Regions from separate parts of the Homo sapiens genome. Here region 2 is linked to region 1. The links are contacts of gene promoters, found by promoter capture Hi-C in blood cells and fetal thymus (Javierre and others, 2016). All regions are on one chromosome and are shown on one strand. The core of a region is centred on a gene start or on the middle of the fragment in contact, and the rest is flanking DNA. Distances in the headings are between cores, read along the strand shown.

What was found. The method cuts DNA at HindIII sites, captures the fragments that hold promoters and counts their contacts. A CHiCAGO score of 5 or more calls a contact.
Region 2: a fragment that was not itself captured here is called in contact with the fragment with the promoter of JUN in region 1 in 11 of 17 cell types (total B cells, total CD4 T cells, naive CD8 T cells and 8 more); the score reaches 8.7 in total B cells.

Annotation. Positions count from the first base shown.
Region 1 is chr1:58,782,033-58,786,678 of GRCh38, reverse strand. JUN (Jun proto-oncogene, AP-1 transcription factor subunit) reads left to right here and starts at 2,632. Exons shown (of 1, transcript NM_002228.4): 1 at 2,632-4,646. The coding sequence starts at 3,609. The coding sequence ends at 4,604. It overlaps JUN-DT (JUN divergent transcript), which reads right to left and starts at 1,528. Exons shown (of 2, transcript NR_108106.1): 1 at 1,374-1,528. RefSeq lists enhancers at 1,441-2,186, 2,413-2,672, 2,187-2,934, 4,343-4,522 and a silencer at 4,193-4,272. The HindIII fragment of the contact is 7,855 bases long and covers 1-4,646 here.
Region 2 is chr1:59,304,618-59,309,263 of GRCh38, reverse strand. All of the region lies in intron 1 of FGGY (FGGY carbohydrate kinase domain containing), which reads right to left. Among named protein-coding and RNA genes, the nearest start is that of FGGY, 9.8 kb to the right of the region's middle. The HindIII fragment of the contact is 4,416 bases long and covers 1-4,113 here.

The sequences.
Region 1 (4,646 bases), core at 1,383-3,882:
AATGAAGGCTTCCAAGCAGGGGCGTTAACATGAACAGATTTGTTATTTTTTTGGATGAAATATGCTATTTCTCAACATAAGGAGAAGATCAGCCTACTAAACCACATGAGGCAGAGAGGAACACACAGAACCTTAGGCAAAAGATATATATTTATGCAAAGTCCTAAGTCTTGAAATTTCTAAATACAAGAGCTCTGAACGGAGTTACAGTCAGAGGATCAGGCAAGAAAATTTCTTCTATGCCACAAGCGCTATTTCCTCTGCAGATAACTAATACTCCACAAGAAAGTTTGCCAGAGTAGAGAAAATACAAAGGAATGTAACACAGACCTGAGGTCAATTTCCAGCTGCCTGTGTGACCTCAACAAAGATACTTAACCTCTCTGGGCCTATTTCCTCACATGTTAAATCTGGATAATAATATATGTCTCTCAAGACAGTTGTGGGGAGAAAACAGCGTATTTAAATTGCTTAGGAGAATGCCTGGCAGATAATAAGTGTTTAATACATGAAACTGATTTTTATTACTGTTATTAAAAAATATTTAGAACACCAACTCCCTGAATACAACAGAAAATGATTCAGGGCAACAGACAGAGGAGAATGTTCTCTCCTTGAGGAAGCAACTGGATCTTGTCATCACTGTATACCTACCTACCCCACCCCCTCCCCAGCTCAGTGCCTGGCTCACAGTAGGCTTTCAGTTACCCTCTGCAGATCAGTGAAAGCTAGGTGAGTGCCCGGAGTGAAGAAAAGTTGGCAGGTTTCCCACTGATACCAGCTGCTGTTGGTTTCTGAACACTCAAAGCCGCAAATACCTTAGGGCTGGGGGCAATGAACCCAAGGCTGAATTCCAAGTTCAGAAGCAGCGAAGTCTGAATTTAGAACCTAGGAACTTAAACTGCTGCAGGTCCAACTTCAAGCCCCAGTTTTAGACAGAGGCTTGGGAAAGATCTGACTTCTAACCCGGTTCCCCCTCCCCTCCTCCCCTCGATGCTTCTCACAGGAAAGTACACCTGGTCCTGCCAAATCGCACTCTTATATCCTGGCATCCTATCCAGGCTCTGCGAGGATGGAAACTGCGAGGCAGGGGAGGGAAGCGGGCTGTTTGGCCACCACCTCCCTAGTGCTGCAGGCGACCCTGTCACACTAACTCCTGGCAGCCCAGTGAGGTGGACGGCACCGGCCCCACCTGCAGATGAGGGAAATGAAGCTCGGAGGAGTTCCGTGATTTGCTTGCTTCACACTGTGGTAGCCTGGCCACGAAAGAACCAGGATTCCCGACTTCGGGATTCTTTCCACCACACACTTTCGTCCCTAAGGGGTGGGGGGCGGGGGGAGAATAAAATAACCGCGGAAAAGGAACCACTTACATGTGTCTAGCGCTTCCTAGAGGCTACCCAGGATATGCGCCCACCACCCGGCCGGGAGTGCAGAGATTTGAAGTCCAGGTTCTACCCCGGGCTCCGAGTACTACTGCGTGACTTTATGCGAGTGTCCGCCGCCTTCTGGGCTTGTTTTCCCGGAAGCAACTCGGCGCGGATGGAGTGTGTGTGTGCGCGCGCGCGCGCGTTATGTTGTGCGTGTTGTGTTAAGCGTGTGCGTGTTGTCCGGGGGCGGGAGGGGGAGTAGACTAACACCGGGGTTCCCCGAGTTTCGGATCGCCTACACGCTTGTTCCCATCTGGACCCTGTTACCCACCAATTGCGCCCACTATAAAAACTGCCCCTCCGAGGCAAAGCTGTGAACCCCCGCGCCCTTTCCCCCACGGTCCCGGAGGATGAAGTGGGGTGCAACGGAGACTCAGCTGAGCGTCCAGTTTCGGGCAATACAAATCTCTCGGCTTCTACGAGCAGCCAGACGACCCCGCGGACCGTCGCTCCTGAACTTGACCGAGATGCAAACTTCGGAGTGTTCTCAACGTGGGGGGCCGACTCTCGGGAGACCGCCCCTAAACTTAAGTCCCCTTAGGCTCGCCCCCACCTGGGACTTCACAGAGCCACCTTAAGGGCGGTATTCCCGCCCCCCCGGAAGTGCGGGGGGGTGGCAGCGTACTTGGATTCTCAGCCTCCAGCCCCGCGCGGTGGCGGCCGCCGGTGGATGACTTCGGGCCCCACAAGTGGGGAAACAACAACCACCCCTCGCCCGCACCCCTGGCCCAAAACAACTGGCCAGGTTCCCTGGCCTCCCGGGTCCCTGCATCCCCCGCATCCCCGTCCGCAGCCGTGAACTTGAGCCCCCCTCCATCAGAGGTTGCGAGCGTCCGCCCGCTCGCGGCAGCCACCGTCACTAGACAGTCAAACCCCAAGACGTCAGCCCACAATGCACCGGGCGGGCCGGGAAAAACGGCCCGGGGAGGGGACCGGGGAAGAGAGGGCCGAGAGGCGTGCGGCAGGGGGGAGGGTAGGAGAAAGAAGGGCCCGACTGTAGGAGGGCAGCGGAGCATTACCTCATCCCGTGAGCCTCCGCGGGCCCAGAGAAGAATCTTCTAGGGTGGAGTCTCCATGGTGACGGGCGGGCCCGCCCCCCTGAGAGCGACGCGAGCCAATGGGAAGGCCTTGGGGTGACATCATGGGCTATTTTTAGGGGTTGACTGGTAGCAGATAAGTGTTGAGCTCGGGCTGGATAAGGGCTCAGAGTTGCACTGAGTGTGGCTGAAGCAGCGAGGCGGGAGTGGAGGTGCGCGGAGTCAGGCAGACAGACAGACACAGCCAGCCAGCCAGGTCGGCAGTATAGTCCGAACTGCAAATCTTATTTTCTTTTCACCTTCTCTCTAACTGCCCAGAGCTAGCGCCTGTGGCTCCCGGGCTGGTGTTTCGGGAGTGTCCAGAGAGCCTGGTCTCCAGCCGCCCCCGGGAGGAGAGCCCTGCTGCCCAGGCGCTGTTGACAGCGGCGGAAAGCAGCGGTACCCACGCGCCCGCCGGGGGAAGTCGGCGAGCGGCTGCAGCAGCAAAGAACTTTCCCGGCTGGGAGGACCGGAGACAAGTGGCAGAGTCCCGGAGCCAACTTTTGCAAGCCTTTCCTGCGTCTTAGGCTTCTCCACGGCGGTAAAGACCAGAAGGCGGCGGAGAGCCACGCAAGAGAAGAAGGACGTGCGCTCAGCTTCGCTCGCACCGGTTGTTGAACTTGGGCGAGCGCGAGCCGCGGCTGCCGGGCGCCCCCTCCCCCTAGCAGCGGAGGAGGGGACAAGTCGTCGGAGTCCGGGCGGCCAAGACCCGCCGCCGGCCGGCCACTGCAGGGTCCGCACTGATCCGCTCCGCGGGGAGAGCCGCTGCTCTGGGAAGTGAGTTCGCCTGCGGACTCCGAGGAACCGCTGCGCACGAAGAGCGCTCAGTGAGTGACCGCGACTTTTCAAAGCCGGGTAGCGCGCGCGAGTCGACAAGTAAGAGTGCGGGAGGCATCTTAATTAACCCTGCGCTCCCTGGAGCGAGCTGGTGAGGAGGGCGCAGCGGGGACGACAGCCAGCGGGTGCGTGCGCTCTTAGAGAAACTTTCCCTGTCAAAGGCTCCGGGGGGCGCGGGTGTCCCCCGCTTGCCACAGCCCTGTTGCGGCCCCGAAACTTGTGCGCGCAGCCCAAACTAACCTCACGTGAAGTGACGGACTGTTCTATGACTGCAAAGATGGAAACGACCTTCTATGACGATGCCCTCAACGCCTCGTTCCTCCCGTCCGAGAGCGGACCTTATGGCTACAGTAACCCCAAGATCCTGAAACAGAGCATGACCCTGAACCTGGCCGACCCAGTGGGGAGCCTGAAGCCGCACCTCCGCGCCAAGAACTCGGACCTCCTCACCTCGCCCGACGTGGGGCTGCTCAAGCTGGCGTCGCCCGAGCTGGAGCGCCTGATAATCCAGTCCAGCAACGGGCACATCACCACCACGCCGACCCCCACCCAGTTCCTGTGCCCCAAGAACGTGACAGATGAGCAGGAGGGCTTCGCCGAGGGCTTCGTGCGCGCCCTGGCCGAACTGCACAGCCAGAACACGCTGCCCAGCGTCACGTCGGCGGCGCAGCCGGTCAACGGGGCAGGCATGGTGGCTCCCGCGGTAGCCTCGGTGGCAGGGGGCAGCGGCAGCGGCGGCTTCAGCGCCAGCCTGCACAGCGAGCCGCCGGTCTACGCAAACCTCAGCAACTTCAACCCAGGCGCGCTGAGCAGCGGCGGCGGGGCGCCCTCCTACGGCGCGGCCGGCCTGGCCTTTCCCGCGCAACCCCAGCAGCAGCAGCAGCCGCCGCACCACCTGCCCCAGCAGATGCCCGTGCAGCACCCGCGGCTGCAGGCCCTGAAGGAGGAGCCTCAGACAGTGCCCGAGATGCCCGGCGAGACACCGCCCCTGTCCCCCATCGACATGGAGTCCCAGGAGCGGATCAAGGCGGAGAGGAAGCGCATGAGGAACCGCATCGCTGCCTCCAAGTGCCGAAAAAGGAAGCTGGAGAGAATCGCCCGGCTGGAGGAAAAAGTGAAAACCTTGAAAGCTCAGAACTCGGAGCTGGCGTCCACGGCCAACATGCTCAGGGAACAGGTGGCACAGCTTAAACAGAAAGTCATGAACCACGTTAACAGTGGGTGCCAACTCATGCTAACGCAGCAGTTGCAAACATTTTGAAGAGAGACCGTCGGGGGCTGAGGGGCAACGAAGAAAAAAAAT
Region 2 (4,646 bases), core at 656-3,155, 520 kb before region 1:
CAACACTAAGATATAATTTTACACCTAACAAACAGGAACTGGAAAATTTTGATAATACCCACTTGGCAAAAGTGTGGGAAACAGGCTGTTTCATACACTTTTCATAGAAAAGTGATTCTATCTTTGATAGAATAATTTAGTACTATCTATCCATTTTTAAAATCAAGTCTTTTACCCAACAGTTTAACTTCTAAGAATTTATCTTCTAAGAATTTATGCACTGACTCATCAAAAAGATACAAAAAAAATCCACCACAACCTTTTTTTGTAAAGGCAAGAACATATCCACAAACACTCTAGAAGCAAATTAAATGATTATTAATAGGGGACTTCTAAAATTGATACATCAGTAGCTGTTGAATGAGAAAAAAAGAAAGCTGCTAATTATATATTATTAACTAAAAAAGCAAGTTCTTGGATGATACAGTATGATGCCATTTGTATTATTTTTTAATAAAGAATAGAGCAAAAGCTCTATTTTCTTCATGCAATACAGTGGTTCTCAAACTTTTATTTTCTCAAATTTTAACAGGGCCATTCGTGGTCTCTAGAAGAGCAGCAGCATTAGTATCACCAGGGAACTTGGTAGAAATTCAAAGTCAGGCCCCCTTCCAGCTCCAGTGACTCAGAAACACTGGGGTGGGGTTCAGCAGTCTGTGCTTTAAAAAGGCCTCCAGGTGATTCCGATGGATGCTAGAGTTTGAGAACCACTGTATTGTATAAAGACCTATCATAAAAGATTTCAGGAAACACACACAAAACCTGCTTACTGCAATGACATCCAGCAAAAAGAAATATAGTGGAGGTTTGGAGGCCATTTACCTGTCCCTCTCTGTGCTGTCTGAATGTTCTCAATGAGCAGCTATTACAGTAATAGGAAGGAAGACCTTCTCTGTATTGAGTTGAACTGTGCTTAGTATAGCTCCTACCCTCTAGTCCTAATTTTTATCCCAAAGGATCATCCAAACAGCCTTTTTTACCCTTATACATGGGCTACCCTTTCAAATGTTTTAAGATGACTCTCATGACCTCCTGTTGGGTCTTCTTTTCTCCATGCTATACATTTTAAGTTCCTGTAATTTTCCTCCATGACATGGTTTTCTAAAATAAAAAGAGAAGCAGCAGCATTAAGAGGCACTGACCATACTTAACTAGAATGATCTTCAGTCACCCATGTTTCTACATGACACTGCATGGAGATGAGGTAAGCTGGGCTAGCTGCACACGGTAAGCACACAGGAAGTCTTCCTTTTCCCTCTCCCTTCCTGGAGACCCCCTGGATGCAACACATGCTGGGACACATCACTGGCCCATCCAGCCCAGCATCCAATCTCTGACAAGGATAAGTTGTTCTTGATAGGAACAAACTATCTATAGTTTGTTCTAACTAACATAAAAAATAATCTGCTTTTTAAGGGAGAAGGGAAAGGGAGCTGGGGCTTCTTCACAAACTGTCTTTGAGGGGAATTTTGAGGTAATCCTTGTCAAATACACTATTCTTCCCTTAAGGGTTCACTAGAATTAGTGTTATCTGTGTTTTATCAATATGTAGCTTCACATGAATCCAAATGCTTTTTAGACTTACTTATATTTTGAGCCAACCCTCATCTTACATCAATAAATTTCTTATGAACATTTACTCTGTGCAAGATGTGGTGCCAGTGACTTACCAGATGGCCTTGCTAATCTTTTCTGCAACTTTTAGATGGGAAACCAAGGTTCTGAGCAGTTAGGTCACCTGTCAGGGTCATAGAGTCAGTGAATAACAGAGAAGGATTTCAATCCTATGTTCTTTCTACTATGTCACATGACAATTTTTTAAAGATCCTAACAATAGCCTTATTCAAATGTCAAAGCTGCCACATAATTCTACAATCCCAATATTTGGTTAACTAGATTGAGTTTGATCTGTCTAAATCACTCGATTTTTTTTTTTTTTTTTTTTTTTTTGAGACAGGGTCTCACTCTATCACCCAGGCTGGAGTGTAGTGATGCAATTATAGCTCATTGTGGCCTCGACCTCCTGGGCTCAAGCCATTCTCCCATAACAGCCTCACGAGTAGCTGGGACTACAGGCATGCACCATCATGACACAATAATTTTAGATTTTTTATAGAGATGGTGTTTTGCCATGTTGGCCAGGCTGGTCTCGAATTCCTGGGCTCAAGCTATCCTCCCACCTCGGCCTCCCAAAGTTCTGAGATTACAGACATGAGCCACCGTGCTTGGCCTCATTCTTCATTTTATAGACTTTGTCTTCTTCTCAATTTTCATCTTGCAATATCCAGTCAGCAACCGAGTCCTTTCTTAATCTCTCTCCCATAGCCTGTTTAGCAGAATCCAAGCTATTCAGCTCTCAGCATAATCTGCAATGGATTTCAGTGTAGCTCAGCCCCAAATCTAGATGGTTAAGGGACTGGTAATATATTTAGCCTGAACAATTTTTATTTGATTTTCCTATCCTTCCTAAGTGCACTCTATACATATGTCACTGTATATTCTTCCCCAACTACATATCCATTCTCTACCTTCCCTCCCTGCTATCTGTCCTGGGGACAATAATCTGGATCTCCAAGACTCTCTAATCCTCTGTCTTCTAGTTGGGTTTGAGCAATGGAGAGCTCTAGCTGAAGCCTCAAAGGAAGGAGAAGAGTAAGGTCAGGCCTCTTTTCCTGTAGAGTTGGCCTGGGCCAGCTGCTTCTCTTGGGCTAAAATAACAGATCCTCTCCAGGCAGGCTTCTCCACACGATTTCTCCTTTTGGGTTCTGGTAACCAGTCCTTCCCTCACCCCTTTGGGTCTAAGGATGTAACAGTCTTACTGTTACTAGACCCAGGCATTCAGGCTGCCCTCACTTACTCAATAGTTCTTTTATTGAAAATTATCCTAATTTAGTTATAGCTTATGTTTTTCCCTCTGATATACTTCCTTCACCATGCTCTTAGCACCTTGAAGTGGTAAAAGTTCCCCTTTATTATTGGTATCTGAGTACCTCAAAAATCCCCTCCTCACATCTTTAGATAGTCCCTTATTTATATTTTCCTCAAAAATTCTAGTTGAATGCTTCCAATTCCAGCCAAGATGTAGTGACAGGAACCATATTTACCTCCCTGCTTAAAACAATGGGGAAAAAAATAGAAAACAAAGATTCTCATGACATTGGACATCAGGCAACAGAGTAATCACACAGAGATGGGAAAAAATGAGATAAGTCCTTCAATGGCTCAAGTTTAATCCCTGGGATATGTCTGCAGATTGTGGCACAAAAAGGATGAACACAGGCCAAGCCCAGCAGTCTCCCTGAGTTGAGGAGACAGAGCTGAAAGTCTGTGGAGAACAAAAAGGCTAGAATCTTGGGCAAGAGAGGAGAGAGCTGCACAGAAGAAGAATGCCAGAGAATTGCAAAGGTACTCCCCAAGTATTCAGGAGAGTACTAATCATCCGTACTAATGCATCTATATGTGAAAACAATCTGAGGCAGAAGCACCAAAAAGGATTAGAGAGAACAAATCAGTGGGCTTCACATAAGGCCAGGAATAGTTCTATTCATAACAGCCAGAGTAGAAAGCCTCATAACTCAGAGGGAATTGGGTAGAGTATAAATTCTACCAAGCATTTAAACAATTAATAAAATTCTTCTTGAACTCTTATAAAAAATTAAAGAGGAAGGAATACTTCCACACTCATTTTATGAGGCCAGCATTACCATTACCCTTAAACTAAAGCTAGACAAGGACATTATGAGAAAAGATAATTACAGGCCAATATCCACAATGAACACAGATGCAAAAATCCCCAATAAAATACTAGCAAACCAAATTCAACAGCACATTAAGAAGATCATTCACCATGATCAAGTAAGTAACTATCCTTGTAATGCAAGGATGGTTCAACATATGCAAATCAATAAATGTGATACACTACATTCACAGAACAAAGGATAAAAATACTATCATCTCAATAGATTCTGCAAAAGCATTTGACAAAATTCAACATACTTTCACAATAAAAACTATCACAAATTAGATATAGAAGGAATCCACCTCAACATTATACAGACTATATATGACAAGCCCAAAGCCAATATGATACTCAACATCAAAAAGCCGAAAGCTTTTCCTTTAAGATCAGGAACAAGAGAGAATGCCCACTCTTACCACTACTATTCAGCACAGTATTGGAAGTCCTAGCTAGAGCAATTACAAAAGAAAACTAAATGAAAGGCATCCAGATTGGAAAGGAAGGGATAACATTGTCTGTTTACAGATGACATGATATTATATATAGAAAACCACCCAAAGACTCCAAAAAACTGTTAGAACTAATAAATTAAATCAATAAAGCTGTAGAATAAAAAATCAACATAACAAAAAGCAGCCGCATTTCTATTCACTAACAATGAACTACCCCAAAAAGAAATTAACAATCTCACTTAGAAGGGCATCAAAAAGGAAAAAGTACTTAGGAAAAAATTTACCAAGGAGGTGAAAGATTTGTATATTGAAAACTATAAACCTATGATGAAAGAAACTGAAGAAGACACAAATAAATGGAAACATATCCATGTTCACAGACTGGTAGAAATAATATTGCTAAAATAACCATACTACTCAAAGTGATCTGCAGATTCAAAGTAATTTCTATCAAA